Linked DNA regions of Homo sapiens: region 1 is linked to region 2. Evidence: promoter capture Hi-C in 16 types of primary human blood cells and fetal thymus (Javierre and others, 2016). All regions are on one chromosome and are shown on one strand. The core of a region is centred on a gene start or on the middle of the fragment in contact, and the rest is flanking DNA. Distances in the headings are between cores, read along the strand shown. Region 1 holds the start of SERINC1 (serine incorporator 1). Region 2 holds the start of NT5DC1 (5'-nucleotidase domain containing 1).

Region 1 (4,410 bases), core at 408-2,907, 6.4 Mb before region 2:
AAAGATTAATATGACTTTTGTATTTAACTCTGAATATCTCAGGTGAAAAAACTCTATTGAATAGTGCAAGAACTTATGAATATCTCAGAAACCCTCTTAAATGGAGCAAGAGACAAGAATCTGTGCAAATTTAAATTTTAAGAGACCCATTCTCCATTTGGCTAATAAACATATTCTTTACGACCTTAAAGTTACTCACATATAAGTGTTTTTTGTCTCCTTCTCTGGTACTTTGAAAAGTTTAAGGACTTGAGATACTAGGATTCTCTTCTCCCATAAATAACGTATTAAGTTTAGCATAATTAAAAATATTGTTAGGTTTGTAATTTCCATTTCCACTATTCTTTTTTTTTGAGACGGAGTCTCGCTCTGCAGCCCAGGCTGGAGTGCAGTGGCCCAATCTCGGCTCACTGCAACCTCTGCCTCCCGGGTTCAAGCAGTTCTCCTGCCTCGCCTCCCGAGTAGCTGGGATTACATGCGCGTGCCACCATGCCCGGCTAATTTTTTGTATTTTTAGTAGAGATGGGGTTTCACCATGCTGGCCAGGCTGGTCTTGAACTCCTGGCCTTGTGACCCGCCTGCCTCAGCCTCCCAAAGTTCTGGGATTACAAGCATTTCCACAATTCTTTAAACCTTATGGATGCTCTATTATAATACTTTGCTTTAAGAGTGGTCTACAAAACCACAGATAAGGCAAAGAAGAATAAAGCAAGATTGTCCCTTAGTGGTTACAATAACTAGGAGTAGGGATTCTGACATTCTTCCAGATTCTTAGGTGTTTACCCCACCTCGACCCATGCAATTTTTGTAGATTTTACAACACTTTCTTATTATTAGTTATGGGAATGACTATTTCAAGTTTGAGCTGTTTCCCAGAATATTTTCAAGAACAAATAACTCTAAAAAAATAACTGGAACTTTTATAGGAATGCATTCCCTGCAGATGTGCATCATCACCTAATATGCAAGGGTTCCACATGCCTCAACAGCTCATGACATTCGAAATCAATGTTTGAGTTTGATAATGTCTTATCTAACTAATTAAAAATAATTTTAACGTGCAAATTTCTTGTAACATCTTAATAGCATAAGAAATTAAAATATAAGTCAATAGCAAACAGAAATGATACAGAGAAACTGAAGCACACAGATGAATATAAATATCCCAATAAAACTTGTTCCGGGCAGCGGGCTGCAGGAATACGTTGCAAACGCAAGAGCAAAACAGGATGCAAACGTGGGAAAAATGGGAAATAAGTGGAGTTAGGACGGACAAAGACTGAGAAAGAGGAAGCAATCCCCTAAAAAGCAGAGAGGTTCCTCAGATGAAGGAGGGCAAAACGTCAACCACCACCTCAGCTCTGTTCTCTACTAATGCCCAAATGCAAGTGCATGGTAGGTAAAGGTGGGTTTTGCTCACACCGTTTTCTTAATTTGGCAAACTACGGTCAGATCCACATTAGCCGTTAAGTTTCCAGCCAGCAGTCCTTGAGAAATTCTCCAGGAAAGAAGACAGCCGTGTCGTCTAGTGACGCGCATGCGCAGTCTCAGCGCTGCGCGCTCCGTGTTTTATCCTACCCAGGCCTGGAAGGAAGTGACGCGAGGCTGAGGGGCGGGTTGCGCTGTGCGTCCGGAAGTGTCTCGCAGATAGTAAATAATCTCGGAAAGGCGAGAAAGAAGCTGTCTCCATCTTGTCTGTATCCGCTGCTCTTGTGACGTTGTGGAGATGGGGAGCGTCCTGGGGCTGTGCTCCATGGCGAGCTGGGTAAGGTGCTTTTTGCGGCCTCTGGGGTGCTAGTGTGAGAGACCAAAGAGAAGGCGATCCGAGCCGGGGCTGGGTGAGCCCGGCGGGAATGTGGTGCCCCACCCAACAGGGAGTGCCCTCTCTGTCCCCGTTTTCTTCCCGTCTCCTCTCGTCACTCAGACTCAGCTTCAGAGCTTTGGGTCTTGCGAAGAACTGATCACTGGCCGTAAGGTTTAGTGGCGATGGGAAGATGACTCAAATTGAGGAAGAGAACTAGAATAGGGCCCCTCCCCCACCCCTGCTTCGTGAACGCTGTCTCCCATTCTTTGAGGTCCCTTTTCGTGGTTTTGTTTGTATCTGCGCAGGCCATCTCTACAAAGGTCTTTGCCCCTTTCCTTCGGTGGGGTACCCACTCTGTTGTCATCTCTTTCCTGGCGACCTCAGACTGCCGCACTGTCGTTCCTGGATTCATGTCGCCCTCTTTGTTCAGTGGCGCAGATTATGATTAAAAAGTGCCTGTCGTCATTTGGAACCGCCTGGCAGTAATGCTAATGTAGTAATATTGTTTTTGAAACAAATAGTCATAGCTCTGCCGTAACTGTTTGAAGTGTCAATTTCAGATTTCAACTTAAAATTGAAATTTCAGATGACACACGCATGCCTTGTGCCTAATGACAATTTTGTCTTTAGGCACAAAACATGCGTGTGTCATCTGAAATTTCATGCTTAATTAGCTGTACATTGCATTTTCATTAAAGAGTTGTTAGAGTAAAACTATTTTCAGTATAGTGGCAAGACTTTGGTCCGTGTGGCACAAATTTCAGTTTATTTAAGATAATCTCTGCCCCCTCCAAAATAGTAGGCAAAACATTGGCAGTGCAGTTAATAAAGATATTTGTAATTTTAGGCGAGGTATTTGGACTCAAATCACTTTTCTTTAGTCTGGAATTTGTTAATTCTGTTTCTAACAATTGCTTTTCTGACTTCCCAAATGATTCCGTTATATATACTCTTAAAGGTTTTGATATGTCTTGAACTAAAAATGTTGAATTTTAATCAAATAATAATGTGGGGATTGTTACTCCAGCCAGTCTGTTCTTTTGATTATATGGTATTTCTTCTTGCACGGAAGCCTGGAATATTTTATCTCAAGATATTAGAGAGTTTAATTATTGACTTTTATACAAAAGAGGCATATTTAGTGTGATAAACAGTTTTGAAAACTGATAATTGATTATCATATAAGATTGTTTTCATCGGTTTTTTATTGGAAGATGTTATGCAATTCAATTTGTAATGTCGTATCTTGTCCAGTTATGAAGTGGGCGTGCTGTAGTTTTTTGTATATAATAGAGATTTAAAAGATGAGATACATGTTTTCCCTTTTACAAAATAGATCGCCACCTTTATTGATTAGAAGAATGTCCGTGATAAAATTGACCCTGCCTTTTAGTTTCTGTGTTAATAGCGAAGTACATTAAAAAGGTAGAAGCAGTGAGGCAGTTTTTTAGAGATGGGGGTCTAAGTGTATTGGCCGGGCTGAAGTGCAGGGGATGGTCGTAGTGAACTGCAGCCTGGAACTGCTGGGCTTAAGTGTAACCTCAGCCTCCCAGGTAGCTGGTACTACAGGCAGGTGCTACCGTGCTCAGTTTGGAATTTATTTTATTGTTTGCAGTTTCAGTAATCTTTTTCCCTTTTCTTCCTTGTGCCTCTGTCTCTATTCATTAATTGTTTGATTTTACTGCAGGCCAATAGTCATTGAAGGGGACCATCTCTTCCACATTCTTAACAGTTAATGTGCTCATTTACTTAGAGGTTTTGATGAAATTAAAATTTATTCAGCTTTTCAAAAGTAACACTCAGAGCCTGCTGCAGTGGCTCACGCCTGTAATCCCAGCACTTGGGAGGATGAGGTGGATGGATCACTTGATGTCAGGAGTGGGAGACCGCCTGGTCAATATGGTGAAACCCCGTCTCTACTAAAAATACAAAAAAAAATAGCTGGGTATGGTGGCACATGCCTGTAGTCCCAGCTACTCGGGAGGCTGAGGCAGGAGAATTGCTTGAACTGGGAGACGGAGGTTGCAGTGAGCTGAGATCATGCCACTGCACTCCAGCCTGGGCAACAGAGCAAGACTCCATCTCAGAAAACAAAACAAAACAAAACAAAAAAACAAAAATCAGCCGGATGTGGTGGCGCACACCTGTAATCCCACTCGGGTGGCTGAGGCAGGAGAATCTCTTAAGCCCAGGAGGCGGAGGCTGCAGTGAGCCAAGATGGCGCCACTGCACTCCAGCCTGGGCAACAGAGTGAGACTCTGTGTCAAAAAAAAAAAAAACAAAAACAAAAAACAGAACAAAAAAAAAGTAACATTCAAATCATTAAATTAGATCAGGTAAGCCAGAATTAAAAACAAACCAACCTCATTCTTAATTAGTACAAGTTTCTGCAGGCTTAATCAAATTTAGTAAAAGTTTTTTCCTTATTTATAAAATAATTGTAGAAAATGTCTGAACTATAAAGAGACAAATTATGTGTAATACCACTGAGCAGAAATTGGAGTGTTAAATTGTTCACTTTTTGTTTGCTGCTAAGAGACCTAGAATTAGATTGATCATAATCCTTGGTTCATGGCAGTATAATTTTTTATTCATGCATGGTTGTC
Region 2 (4,747 bases), core at 1,261-3,760:
TCTTAACAGTGACTAAATCACTGTTAAGTGATTAAACAGTGGTGATAATATCTACCTCACAGGGACGTTGTAAGGATTAAATCCATTCATATAAGCAGCATGCTTATTAGAATCATGGCTGTATCATATTCTGTTATTAAAATACCTATTATCTATTCAGTCTATTTATTGAGTCCAGTATGTGCCCAGCACTAAGCTCGGCACACAGAACACACAAGAAACTGTCACAGATACTGATGGAGTCATCACGCTGGGCTCTAGGGGAAGTCCAACAAGTAAACAGGAAGTGTTAATATCATGCAGCATGTGCTATGAGGAATGAAGGGTTTTGTGGAAAACTGAAGGTGGGCTTAGAATGGAAGGGCAAACTTTAAGGGCCAAAAAGACTTCCTAAGGGGAACGATGTTTAAGATGAGGCCTGATGGGATGAAGAGCTTCTGTGCAGAGCAAAGAGGCCCTCCAGGCACTGTTGGCAGCGTGAAGCAAGACCCAGGTCATACTACCCACCACAAGGGACCAAGACTAACTCTTCAGCATTTTTGCCTACTGTGTAAGGCTGCCTGGAGGCCTGCGTGTTGATCTCTGTATCCTCAGCTCTAGCATGGTGCTCAGCACACTGTGGGACTTAAAATAAAAAAGATTTCCACACCAAACATGATCCAAAACTCAATAGGTTACTGTTTTCAAGCTTTAAACATCACTTATTCTCCAGGTTTGCAGTAAAAAAACCTCTTGTCTTTGAGAATCTTATATTCTGAAATTTTATGATCACCTATGGACAACACTAGCTCTAACATGACAGTGGTTTAACAATATTACCTCCAAATGAAGGTAACTAAAGAGGAGACACACAAAACTGTGAACCAGGAAGGATTCGAAAGACACAGAGGGAAGGAAAACATGTATCAAAGACCTAGGGGAAGCAGTGGCCAAAGAATCAAGCAGTAAAAAAGCCTTCTTAATTCTCAATGTGACTAAGGAAACCAGACCTGTAAGGTAAGAAAGCAGGAAAGTGTAACAGCAGAAAAAGGACATTTAAAAAAAAATTTAGCATCTGGGCATAGAAAACACACGAGAAATTCGGGCAGCCACTCTTTTTTGACCTTTAACGTGTACCTGAACTGGTGGGTGCAGGAACTGGCGGGTGCCCATAATGGGGCACAACCCTGGCTGATGTCTGCACCAGTGATCTAGAGTTCTACCCATAAACTGTGAGGTTTCCAAATAGTTTGGGTGGTAACCATAAAAGCAAACACTTGTCTTTGCCAAGGTACTATTCTAAGCATTATACATCTCTTACTCATTTAATCCTTGCAACAATCTTGTGAGGTAAATCCAATTATTAGCTCCATTTTACAGATGGGGAAACTGAGAAGCAGCACAGGTTAAGTAACTTCCTCGAAGTCACAGAGCTAGTAACAGTGGAGCTGGTGTCCTAAGCTAGGCAGTCTGGCTGAGGAGTCCTCGCTTTCACCACTGTACTCATAACCAGCTCTTTTTCTGTCTGGATGCTTAGATCTTGGACTAAAAAAATCTGGTAACTTTTCAAAATTAGTTTCCTTGGGAATTGGGAAACCAAAGGAATAGTGGAGGGAGGGCAATTAATTTGAGTGTACAGGTCTGGAAGCATGCATACTCCATGTCCCCCTCCCTCAGGGCACAGTGAGGACCCAAACTTCGCAGACTGTTGGTAGGACTGGAATGTATTCAAAGTGCACGGAGCACGTAGTCGATGCGCAATAAATATGTATTTTCTTCTCTTGATAGAAGGTAAAACTAGGGCTAAGATCTTAATGACTTTTCAACTAGTGTTCCTTTCAATACACTACACTATATACTACGCATCTCTCCCAGATTGCAGTTTAAACACTGATGGGTGGTTGATCGTGCAAACAGAAAAATGCAGCCAAAAAAAATGCAAGTACCAAATCAAGTGGCTGTGTCCACAATCAGCTGGTGTCCAGAAAGACATGCAGAGAAAGTTCCACGACGTGAGATCTTCAAGGACAGCCCTAGTCCCCCTGACCCCGCCCCTCCTCGGCCCTAGAAATCACCGATTCCCCAGCCCGGTCTTGCGCAGTTTGCCCCTCCTTCGTTCTTCCCTATCCCTCTCAACATTAGCTAATGGCTGAGGTAAATGTGCCGGTCCCCACGGCACCGGCGCGGAGCGGAGGCTGCACACTTCCGCCCCTTCTCGCCGCTGGAGGCCGCGCTCTGCGGCAAGACTCGGCCGCCGCAGGCCCCGGGCAGCGTCCGCCGTTGCCCAAACCTGGAGGAAACTCAAGCCCCAGCCGCCATGGAGGTTGCGCGCAGTGCGCCCCGGAGCCCGCGCCACTCACCGGGGCGCTCTCGGGCAGGTTGTAGCGACACAGAGTGTGGTCCAGGTCGAATCCGACCACGTCGCAGGCGGCCAGGGAGAAGTGCTGAGCCATGGCTGCGCGGGGAGCACCAGGGAGCGCCTCGGCCGCGAAGGGTGCAAGGAGCTGGCTGGCGGGACGCTGCGGGACAGGACCGGGCCGGACGCGGCGGGGCGGGGCTGCGGCTGCCAGGGCACACGGCGCGGCAGCCTCTCCCGCCTCCCGCGCCCTCGAGCACCGCCCCTCGATACGCTTAGCCCCCGCCCCTCGCGCGGCGGGCGTCCTGCGCCGCCCGGAGTCAGGTAGTCAGCTCGCGTCCTCCTGGTACCCCAATGCCGGCGACTCCTGATCTGTTCCGCAAGCCTAGGAGCCCAGAAGGCAGTAGGGGTCCAGGAGCGGTGCCGCTGCTGCACAGCTGAGACCTGTAGGCACGTAGCCTTTCCCGAGGGCTACCACAAAATTAACCGGGACACTCCATCGCCTCAGGGCGCCTCGGAAACCAGGAGATCATGAGGTTAGACCTGACCTTTTACCCCTGTGTGAGGAATAGTAAGATCATAGAAAAAATTCATCCGCTAATATCCCTCTGACCCAGTTAGCCTACAATTTGGAAGGTCTTTTCACCCACGTGATCTTTGATAGTGGTTTAAACCAAAAACTTTATATTCCTTGGTTTCCTAAGTGGTTAAGTGGAAGACAGACCTTTCACTATTTCATACCCTGGAGTGCGTTAGAAAATAAATGTATCAGACATCGTGAAGAACCATTTTGCAAGATGATACTTGTTATGGAAACCAATATTGGTTATTACTTGATAATCCTATTTTGTTATTGTAATGAATTTTTTATGAAAGGGCATCAGAAACTTCATAGAAATATATAGAGCATACTACAAAAAACTTTTGCAAACCGGGTTTAAGGTTTATAGAGCACAAAATGTTTTGAGTGACATTTGCTTAATTCTCTCAAGAACTGTATAACTACTACCATTTTAGATGCAGAGAAAGTTAATCCATTACATACAATGTATGCCTTAGGGCATTTAATTCTCTTCCTGATTTCCGGATGTGAAGGACTAGCACTTTGAGATCTTTATTACATAGTACCTCATTTTAAAAAGAAAATACAAATCTATTATGTTTACACTGCTTCAGTTCTCAATTTAAAGGAACAATGTGTCTAATGGGACAAATCAATAGTCGTGACATAATGAAAATATAATTGATTGAGAACTGCATTTAACCCTTTCAAATACTAATCCTTCTGAGGCTAATAGACCAATCAGAGGATTAATTTAGTGCAATAGATAGTACAATTGAGTAGGAGGACACTTATACCTAGTAGACCCATTTGAATAAAATTGATAACTTGTTCCATTATAACACTTAAAAGCCCCAAACAAATCTCTCTGGAATAGGAAAAGTAAAGAATCTTCAAGAAGATTAAGCTGTTCACTGATGAGTCCAACAATCATGTTTTCAATGTCTGTGAACCAAAAGAGAAAAGGCTGGATTGTTGGAGAGGCTGGAAAAAGCTTGTTGGCCCTGGAGCATTGACCTTGGCATTCTCCTCTGCACCTTGCAATAGAATGCTACCAAAGTCAAACTTCCAGGTGCATGCCACATTGAAGGGCACATGTTTCCTTGGGGAATATCTTGTTTCATGTGGGAGTAGGTGCTTTAGGTACTTTAGGGACTTCCCTTAGTAATACAAATGTACTAGTACATTCATTGTAAGAGGGAAGAGTATAAAAGGATTGTTTTTTGTTGACTTAGCAAAAACTTCTCCTTACAAAACCTCTTGAGTGTGCTGAATTGTGAACAGGAAATTGACTTGGGGTAAGGGGAGAGAGGGAACCAGGGCACTCTTAAAGAGAAAAAGACCCCTGGGTCGATAACCAAGTGGTCCTGGGACTGGATCTGGCTATTACATGCACATCAACAATCTTATGTACTTGCTGATTAACAAATTATATATATTCTGCATGTTTGCACAAACAGTTCTTGTGCTAGAGAGTCCACATCATTTAAACTTTGTGGGAGAATTTTGCAAATGATCCAATCCTAGAGGCTTGTACTCTTTCTTGAGCCCCACTCACCTTTCCTTTGTACCTCAAACCTCAGTCTGACTCTTCCAGAAATATAGGGGATGGTTCCCTTCTCTTCTCCCATTCCCTACATAACCCTGAGTTTAAATACAAACACTCAGTTTAATTGTTTCATAAGGCTTATTTTTGGATAAAGATATTTCATTTTCCCTGCACATTAAACTTTTATCACACTTACTGATAAAATGCCACAGCTCTTGTATTATCAACTACAAGTTCAGTCTTCTACTTAGATACCAATTAATTTCTGTTTCTTTGAGTATCATGGACTGAATTTTGTCCC

What was found. Contacts are between HindIII fragments. The CHiCAGO score rates a contact against its expected background, and 5 or more counts as called.
Region 1: a contact is called between the fragment with the promoter of SERINC1 here and the fragment with the promoter of NT5DC1 in region 2, in 1 of 17 cell types (activated CD4 T cells). The highest score is 6.4, in activated CD4 T cells.

The regions. Positions count from the first base shown.
Region 1 is chr6:122,469,054-122,473,463 of GRCh38, reverse strand. It overlaps SERINC1 (serine incorporator 1), which reads left to right and starts at 1,657. Exons shown (of 10, transcript NM_020755.4): 1 at 1,657-1,765. The coding sequence starts at 1,727. It also overlaps a transcript of PKIB not described here. RefSeq lists enhancers at 1,498-1,557, 1,608-2,007. The HindIII fragment of the contact is 8,379 bases long and covers 1-4,410 here.
Region 2 is chr6:116,098,616-116,103,362 of GRCh38, reverse strand. It overlaps NT5DC1 (5'-nucleotidase domain containing 1), which reads right to left and starts at 2,510. Exons shown (of 12, transcript NM_152729.3): 1 at 2,340-2,510. The coding sequence starts at 2,432. It also overlaps a transcript of FRK not described here. RefSeq lists enhancers at 268-337, 1,807-2,327, 2,328-2,850 and a silencer at 2,435-2,694. The HindIII fragment of the contact is 3,203 bases long and covers 691-3,893 here.